2 separate regions of the Homo sapiens genome follow, and region 1 is linked to region 2. Evidence: promoter capture Hi-C in human tissues and cell types (Jung and others, 2019). All regions are on one chromosome and are shown on one strand. The core of a region is centred on a gene start or on the middle of the fragment in contact, and the rest is flanking DNA. Distances in the headings are between cores, read along the strand shown. Region 1 has its middle 11 kb from the start of SCYL1. Region 2 holds the start of CDCA5 (cell division cycle associated 5).

Region 1 (3,955 bases), core at 1,353-3,852, 430 kb before region 2:
TGCTCTGTCTAGCCTTCCCTGAATTATTCAGGCAGAAAGCATTGCTTCTAGCCTGGCAAGATGGCTCACACCTGTAATCCTGGCACTTTGGAAGGCTGAGGTGGGAGGATCGCTTGAGCTCAGGAGTTCAAGACCAGCCTCGGCCATAGAGTAGGACCCTCATCTCAACAAAATATCAAAAAATTAGCCAGGCATGGAGGTGTGCACCTGTAGTCCCAGCTACTTTGGAGGCCGAGGAAGAAGGATTGCTTGAGCCCAGGAGGTTGAGGCTGCAGTAAGCCATGATTCAACCACTGCACTCCAGCCTGAGCAACAGGGTGAGACCTTGTCTCAAAATAAAGAAATAAAAATAAATTAATTTAATTAATTTGTTAAAAAGCATTGCTTCTGTGCTTTTCCAGTGCACTTCACAAGAAATGCTCTCAGAGACCAGGCACGGTGGCTCATGCCTGTAATCCCAGCACTTTGGGAAGCTGAGGAAGGAGGATTGCTTGAGCCCAGGAGTTTGAGGCCAGCCTGGGCAACATAGCAAGACCTTGTCTCTATAAAAAAAAAAAAATGCTCTTGGCCATGTGCAGTGGCTCACACCTGTAATCCCAGCACTTTGGGAGGCCAGGGGAGGTGGATAACTTGAGGTCAGGAGTTCGTGACCAGCCTGACCAACAGGGTGAAACCCCGTCTCTACTAAAAATACAAAGATTTGTATATAAATTGAATCATGCAGTATGTATTAATGGCAAAAACTGCAATTACTTTTTTTTGAGACGGAGTCTCACTCTGTCACCCAGGCTTGAGTGCAGGGGTGCAATCATGGCTCACTGCAACCTCTGTCTCCCGGGTTCAAGCGATTCTCATGTCTCAGCCTCCCCGGTAGCTGGGATTGCAGGTGTTTACCACCACACTCGGCTAATTTTTGTATTTTTAGTAGAGACGGGGCTTCACCACGTTGGTCAGGCTGGTCTTGAACTCCTGACCTCAGGTGATCCACTTGCTTTGGCCTCCCAAAGTGCTGGGATTATAGGCGTGAGCTGCCACACCCAGCCTGCAATTACTTTTGCACTAAACTAATAGTTTTTAAAAACTGGTTTCTTTAATCTCAACATCTTTTGAAATTCTTATGTATTACGGGTGTATCAGTAGTTTGTTCAAGATTTAAAACCTTGAGACACTATGAGCAAAGCTCACCCCCCGCCCTCCTCCAGCATAAAAATTATAGATAACGGCTAGGCATGGTGGCTCACGCCTGTAATCCCAGCACTTTGGGAGGCTGAGGCGGGTAGATCACCAGGTCAAGAGATCGAGACCATCTTGGCCAGCATGGTGAAAACCCGTCTCTACTAAAAATACAAAAATTAGCTGGGCGTGGTGGCGCATGCCTGTAGTCCCAGCTACTCTGGAGGCTGAGGCAGGAGAATCGCTTGAACCAGGGAGTCAGAGGTTGCTGTGAGCCAAGATCGAGCCACTGCATTCTAGCCTGGCAACAGTGTGAGACTCCATCTCAAAAAAATAAAAAATAAAAAATATTAAATGATGGCAGATGTATCCAAGGAATATTTTGGGGATTTGATCCCTTTATGAATCTTGTGATAGATGAAAGTGTGAAGATGGCAACTAGTGGACAACAGAGCAACCCTGGAACAGTGGTAAGATGAGGGAGAAGTATCCTCATATTAGAAGCCTTGGAACAACTATAAACAATGGCGGCTCTGCAGAGAAATCCAAGTCCCTTCTCCAAAGGACTTGTTTTACTATGATGTAAAAATTGGGCCACGTACATTTTTTTTTTTTTTTTTTTTTGAGACAGAGTCTCCCTTTGTCGCTCAGGCTGGAGTGCAGTGGCACAATCTCGGCTCACTGCAAGCTCTGCCTCCCGGGTTTATGCCATTCTCTTGCCTCAGCCTCTCAAGTAGCTGGGACTACAGGCGCCCGCCACCACGCCCGGCTAATTTTTTGTATTATTTTTAGTAGAGACGGGGTTTCACCATGTTAGCCAGGATGGTCTTGATCTTCTGACCTCGTGATCAGCCCGCCTCGGCCTCCCAAAGTGCTGGGATTACAGGCATGAGCCACCGCGCCCGGCCTGGGCCATGTGCATTTTTATATTAAGCTTTTTATTAAGTAAACATTTGTAACAATAAAAATTTAAAAAAAGAGATTTAAAACTTCTACTCCTCAAAGACACTGTTACAAAAAAATGAAAAGAAAGACACATATTGGGATAAAACTTTTGCAAAACATATATCTAAACATAAAACAGGCCACGGGCAGCGGCTCATGCCTGTAATCCCAACACTTTGGGAGACCAAGGCAGGCAGATCTCTTGAGGTCAGGAGTTTGAGACCAGCCTGGCCGACATTGTGAAACCCTGTCTCTACTAAAAATACAAAAATTAGTGGGGTGTGGTGGTGCATGCCTGTAATCCCAGCCACTTGGGAGGCTGAGGCAGGAGAATTGCTTGAACCCGGGAGGCAGAGGTTGCAGTGAGCTGAGATTGCACCACTGCACTCCAGCCTGGGCGACAGAGCGAGACTCCGTCTCAAAAAATACAAAATAAATAATAAACATACAACAGAAGTAAAAAAAGAAAAAAAATCTGACAAGGGACTTCTATCTCGAATATGTAAAAGCCCTTACAACTCAACAAAAGATAAAAATGCCAACAACAATGGCAAGAAAAAAAAAACACAAAATGGCTGGGCACGGTGGCTCACACCTTTGGGAGGCCGTGGTGGGTGGATCATTTGAGGTCAGGAGTTCAAGACCAGCCTGACCAACCTGGTGAAACCCGGTCTCTACTAAAAAAACAAAAATTAGCCGGGCGTGGTGGGGCGCTCCTTCAATCCCAGGTACTTGGGAGGCTGAGGCAGGAGAATCGCTTGAACCTGGGAGGTGGAGGTTGCAGTGAACCGAGATCGCAACACTGCACTCTAGCCTGGGCGACAGACGGAGACTCCGTCTTAAAAAGAAAAGAAAAGAAAAGAAAAGAAAAGAGAAAAACACAACACAAATGAACAGACACTTCACCAAAGAAGATACGCAACTGTGGCCAGGCGAGGCGGCTCACACCTGTAATCTCAGCACTTTGGAAGGCTGAGGCGGGAGGATCACTCGAGCTCAGGAGTTCCAGACCATCCTGGGCAACATGGAGAGACCCCATCTCTACTAAAAATAAAAAAATTAAGGCCGGGTGCGGTGGATCACACCTGTAATCCCAGCACTTTGGTAGGCCAAGGCGGGCAGACCACCTGAGGTCAGGAGTTAGAGACCAGCCTGACCAAAATGGAGAAAACCCATCTCTACTAAAAATACAAAATTAGCCTAGCATGGTGGTGCATGCCTGTAATCCTAGCTAATCAGGAGGCTGAGGCAAGAGAATTGCTTGAACTGGGGAGGTGGAGGTTGCAGTGAGCCAAGATCGTGCCATTGCATTCCAGCCTGGGCAACAAGAGTGAAACTCCATCTAAAAAAAAAATTAGCTAGGCATGGTGGTATGCACCTGTATGGTTCCAGCTACTTGGGAGGCTCAGGTGGGAGGCTGGCTTGAGCTCAGGAGGCAGAGGCTGCAGTAAGCTGAGATCCTGCCACTGAACTGCGGCCTGAGCAACAGCGACAAAGTGAGACCATGTCCCAAAACAAAACAAAAAACACCAGTGCTGGGTGCAGTGGGTCACACCTGTAATCCCACTTTGGGAGGCTGAGGTGGGAGGATCCCTTGAGTCCAGGAGTTCAAGACCAGCCTGGATAACAAAGCAAGACACAATCTCTTTTTTGTTGTTGTTGTTTTTTGAGACAGAGTCTTGCTCTGTTGTCCAGGCTGGAGTGCAGTGGTGCGATCTCGGCCTAATGTAGCCTCCACCTCCTGGGTTCAAGCAATGCCTCAGCCTCCCAAATAGCTGGGATTACAGGAGCCAGCCACCACGCCTGGCTAATTTTTGTATATTTTTGGTCTTGCTGT
Region 2 (3,994 bases), core at 877-3,376:
TTCAGTCCTTTCAATGAGTCCTCTCTGGGCCTGCACTCATCATATTCTTTGGGCTAATGGCTAATAATGAACAGTTTCAGAAAAGGTTCCTCGATACACACACAGGCACACATATACATGTACACATCCCTGGGCACAAATGTACATGTCCTTATAAGCACATAATCAAACACAAGTGGCATTCCCTATATCTACACTATGGGTACAGGAGCCCTCACACATACACATCTATACACTCACAGGTTTGCTAACAGGCACCCTCAACCATGCATTCTCTTGCACTCCCACAACACACCTGTGTTCATATGTTCACATACATACATTTACCCATTCATTCACCCCAAGTACAGATCAACACACTAACACTCATTTAAACACACAATGTACATTAAGTGCCTGCAAGTACACACATGCACTCACAAGGAGAAACACATATGGAGCTGACTCTTGCATGAGCTCCTTCAAAAACTGGAGCTAAGGCTCTTACCCCAGATTCAGGTCAAAGTCATGACACATATGTCTGCTGACTTCTTTTAGCTAACTTTAATGTGGGAAACTCACTTCCTCTCTGTTTAGCCTTGGAATCAGTGGTGGATCCTGAATATCTGAAAGCAACATGCCGGTCTGGCTAGCTAATAGTCACGGCCACCAGCATACCCGTAAGCTTGACTGGTTCTCGCTGAAACCTCCAGATTGGCAGGGCTTAATTTTTAGGAAAGAGGAACTAGGAGCTTTAATTTTTAGGAAAGACAGTGAGGCCTAGAAAGGAAGAATAACTTGCCTGAACTTACACAGCAGGTAAGGAACTTTAACAGGACTAGAATCTGGGCTCTGAGACTCGGGGGACTCACTGTCCTGCTGCTTGAGGAGGGCCTGGAAACCAGTCACCAAGCTGGCCCCTGAGGCTGGCCTGATCCCCCCGAGGTGCCAAGGCCTCACCATAGCAGACAAGGCGGGTCGTCTCTCGGCTGGCCAGGGGTATGTTGCACAGGCGGCAATTGGGGTTGTAGTCGCTATCTTGGAGCCATTGCAGGTAGGACTGGACGATGCACTGGAGTGGGAGAGAGATGTCACAACTGGTGCTGGGGCTGCTCGGCCTATCACCCCAAGGTCCGACTGTCTCTTTTTCTCTAGCCACAGAGGAGACTCATCCTTTCGTTTGTTTAATCAATAAATATTTATTGAGCACATACTGTGCACCAGACTCTCTCTTGGGAACGGGGGATATATCAGTGAACAAAATAAATCAAGTCCTTGCCCTTGTGGGGCTTACATTCTAGCGCGGGGCCCCTCATGGATTTGGAGGAAGCCAATACCGCCTTGCCCACCCAGTGCCCTGCTCAGTCGCTCCCCTGAAGGCCCCACCTTGGCGTGATTGGCTACCAGGCAGTGCTCGCAGACGTTGACCCGATGTTCGAAGCAGAACAGGTTGGTCACCTTTCTCTTGGGGCACTTACAAAGCCCCATGATCGATCCTGGGAAAGGGGCATGAGTTGGTAGGAAGTCAGGTTCTGGTGGCCACCACTACGCTCTCACCAGCCCAGTTTCCACTCTTAACTCCCCCAGACACCTCTCATATTCGCCCCGATCTCAGATTCCTGCCCACTGTCCCTCCTTATGCGGAGAAACACCCCCTGCATAAATCCCGCCTCCGGCGACCCCTCAATCCTTCTGGATCCCGCCCCCGGCCAGGCCCCTCCATCAGAGGCTCCCCGATACTACCGGCCCCGCCCCCAAGACCTCTCCTGAGCCCCACCCCCTCCAAGTCCCGCCCCTTCTCTACAGACCCCAGTCTCTGTGTTTACTGATCGGCCGCTGCACTGGTTCCGAAGGGCGGTAGCGATGGCTCGAGGCGCGGAAGGGCAGGGACCACTCTCCCCAGGGCTCCTGCGCCTCTCCCTTCAGCCCCGGCCGCCCCGATTATCCCTCCGCTGCCACGTCTCTTCCGGGTGCGGCGCGCGCTGATGACGCCATCGCGCCCCTGGGCCACGCCTCCGCTGCCGCTAGAGGTGAAGACGGGTGGAAAAGACTCGGGGTTCCGAGGGCCGCAGACCGCTAGCCCTACGTCACTTCCGCTTCCTTTCCCGCAGGGCGGGTAATTCGAACGTTTTTTGCAGCGAGTGGCCTTCCCGGTTGGCGCGCGCCCGGGGCGGCGGCGCTGGAGGAGCTCGAGACGGAGCCTAAGTTATGTCTGGGAGGCGAACGCGGTCCGGAGGAGCCGCTCAGCGCTCCGGTGAGCGGAGGGCGCGCGGGAGACGTGAGGTCGAGCCGTTTGGGGGACGCAGTCCGGTGAAAGATGGCCTCTTCCCTCCCGCTGCCGCCGCCGGAGGAGGCGCCCTTAAAAGGGCTTGTTTGGGAATCTTCTCGCTGTCTCTAGAACCTGTTCTCTGGACTCTAAGGTCTAGAGTCCTCCTCTACCACTTAACTTTTTTCTCTTTCCAGGGCCAAGGGCCCCATCTCCTACTAAGCCTCTGCGGAGGTCCCAGCGGAAATCAGGCTCTGAACTCCCGAGCATCCTCCCTGAAATCTGGCCGAAGGTGAGCCCCAGATTTCTCACTTCCTCCCCTTGTGGCCCCTCACCTAATGTTGAGCTCACGTTCATCCCTCTTCTCCAGACACCCAGTGCGGCTGCAGTCAGAAAGCCCATCGTCTTAAAGAGGATCGTGGCCCATGCTGTAGAGGTAAAGGCTAAGGAGAGTGTTGTGGGTGGTTAGGCGGGCAAAACTGGGGACCAGCTATGTGATCAATTGGTATTGTCCCCCGCAGGTCCCAGCTGTCCAATCACCTCGCAGGAGCCCTAGGGTGAGTTCACTTTCATCTACTTAATTAAGTAGAATCTGGGTCACTCTAGAGCTGGACAGCACACATTGGCTCCTCACATCTGCCCAGGGAGCTGTTTTGCAGTACTGCAAAAACAGTTTGCCTGTGGGCACCTGCATGCATTGCCAGTCTTGATTACTCCCTGAAGACTTAATACACTTAACTTTTTATGCCTTGTGTATTTCTACCATTTTCCTGGAACTTCCTTTAAAAGCTGAGCTATGTCTTAACTCCACGTACTGCCTTTCTAATCCATTATGCCTTCAGCTTTCATGTATGGGTGTTCTGAGATAAGTCATGTGTATGACATTTTTACAGTTTTAGCAGAAGTTATTATCAAAGGATGTTTCATTAATAGACAATCTGAAGACATACTGACTGAGAAATGTGAACTCCTTTGAAGAGCTGATAGGGCTTAGAGTCAACTGGGGAGAAAGACCAATGACAAGTGATAGCAACGTTGTGTACTGGGACTGCAATAAGGAATACTAGATGCTATGATGGTAGCTAACCCAGACCATGTGGCTCAGGGAATGTTTCGTGGAAGAAGAAACATTTGAACTGAGTCTTTAAAGACAAGTAGAGGCCGGGTGCAGTGGCTCACGCTTGTGATCCTAGCATTTTGGGAGGCTGAGGCGGGCAGATCACTTGTGGTCAAGAGTTTAAGACCAGCCTGGCCAACGTGGTGAAACCCTGTGTCTACTAAAAATACAAAATTAGCCAGGCATGGTGGCACGTGCCTATAGTCCCAGCTACTCAGGAGGCTGAGGCAGGAGAATCGCTTAAACCCAGGAGGCGGAGGTTGCAGTGGGCCGAGATCACGCCCCTGCACTCCAGCCTGGGTGACAAAGCGAGACTCCATCTCAAAAAAAAAAAAAAAAAAAAAGACAAGTAGGTTTGTTCCAGGTCAAAGAAGCCATGTTTGCAGAGATTGGGAATTTAAAGAAAAATCAAGGTTCGGGGAATAGCAATTTGTTTAGTGTCTGCAGCAGACCTCAGCAGGGGAGGAAGCACCCTAAGGCAGAGCAGATCCTGATGAGGCACAAAAGCCACACTCATGGCTTGGGCATCATTCTTGGGTCTGTGGGCAGCCTTTGGAGAGTTCTGGGTAAGGTAGTGACCGAGTCAAGTTTGAGTGTTTTAAGAAAGACCCCTCTGGGGGCTGTGGGGAGAA

What was found. Contacts are between HindIII fragments. The study calls those that stand out against the background at their distance.
Region 1: a fragment that was not itself captured here is called in contact with the fragment with the promoter of CDCA5 in region 2 in 1 of the 25 tissues and cell types used here (hippocampus).

Annotation. Positions count from the first base shown.
Region 1 is chr11:65,512,139-65,516,093 of GRCh38, reverse strand. It overlaps the pseudogene SNRPGP19. Among named protein-coding and RNA genes, the nearest start is that of SCYL1, 11 kb to the left of the region's middle. The HindIII fragment of the contact is 7,969 bases long and covers 1-3,955 here.
Region 2 is chr11:65,082,172-65,086,165 of GRCh38, reverse strand. CDCA5 (cell division cycle associated 5) reads left to right here and starts at 2,126. Exons shown (of 6, transcript NM_080668.4): 1 at 2,126-2,233; 2 at 2,443-2,537; 3 at 2,616-2,681; 4 at 2,767-2,802. The coding sequence starts at 2,188. It overlaps ZFPL1 (zinc finger protein like 1), which reads right to left and starts at 1,944. Exons shown (of 8, transcript NM_006782.4): 1 at 1,788-1,944; 2 at 1,366-1,475; 3 at 940-1,051. The coding sequence starts at 1,467. RefSeq lists enhancers at 641-1,225, 1,815-2,084, 2,165-2,394. The HindIII fragment of the contact is 10,147 bases long and covers 1-3,994 here.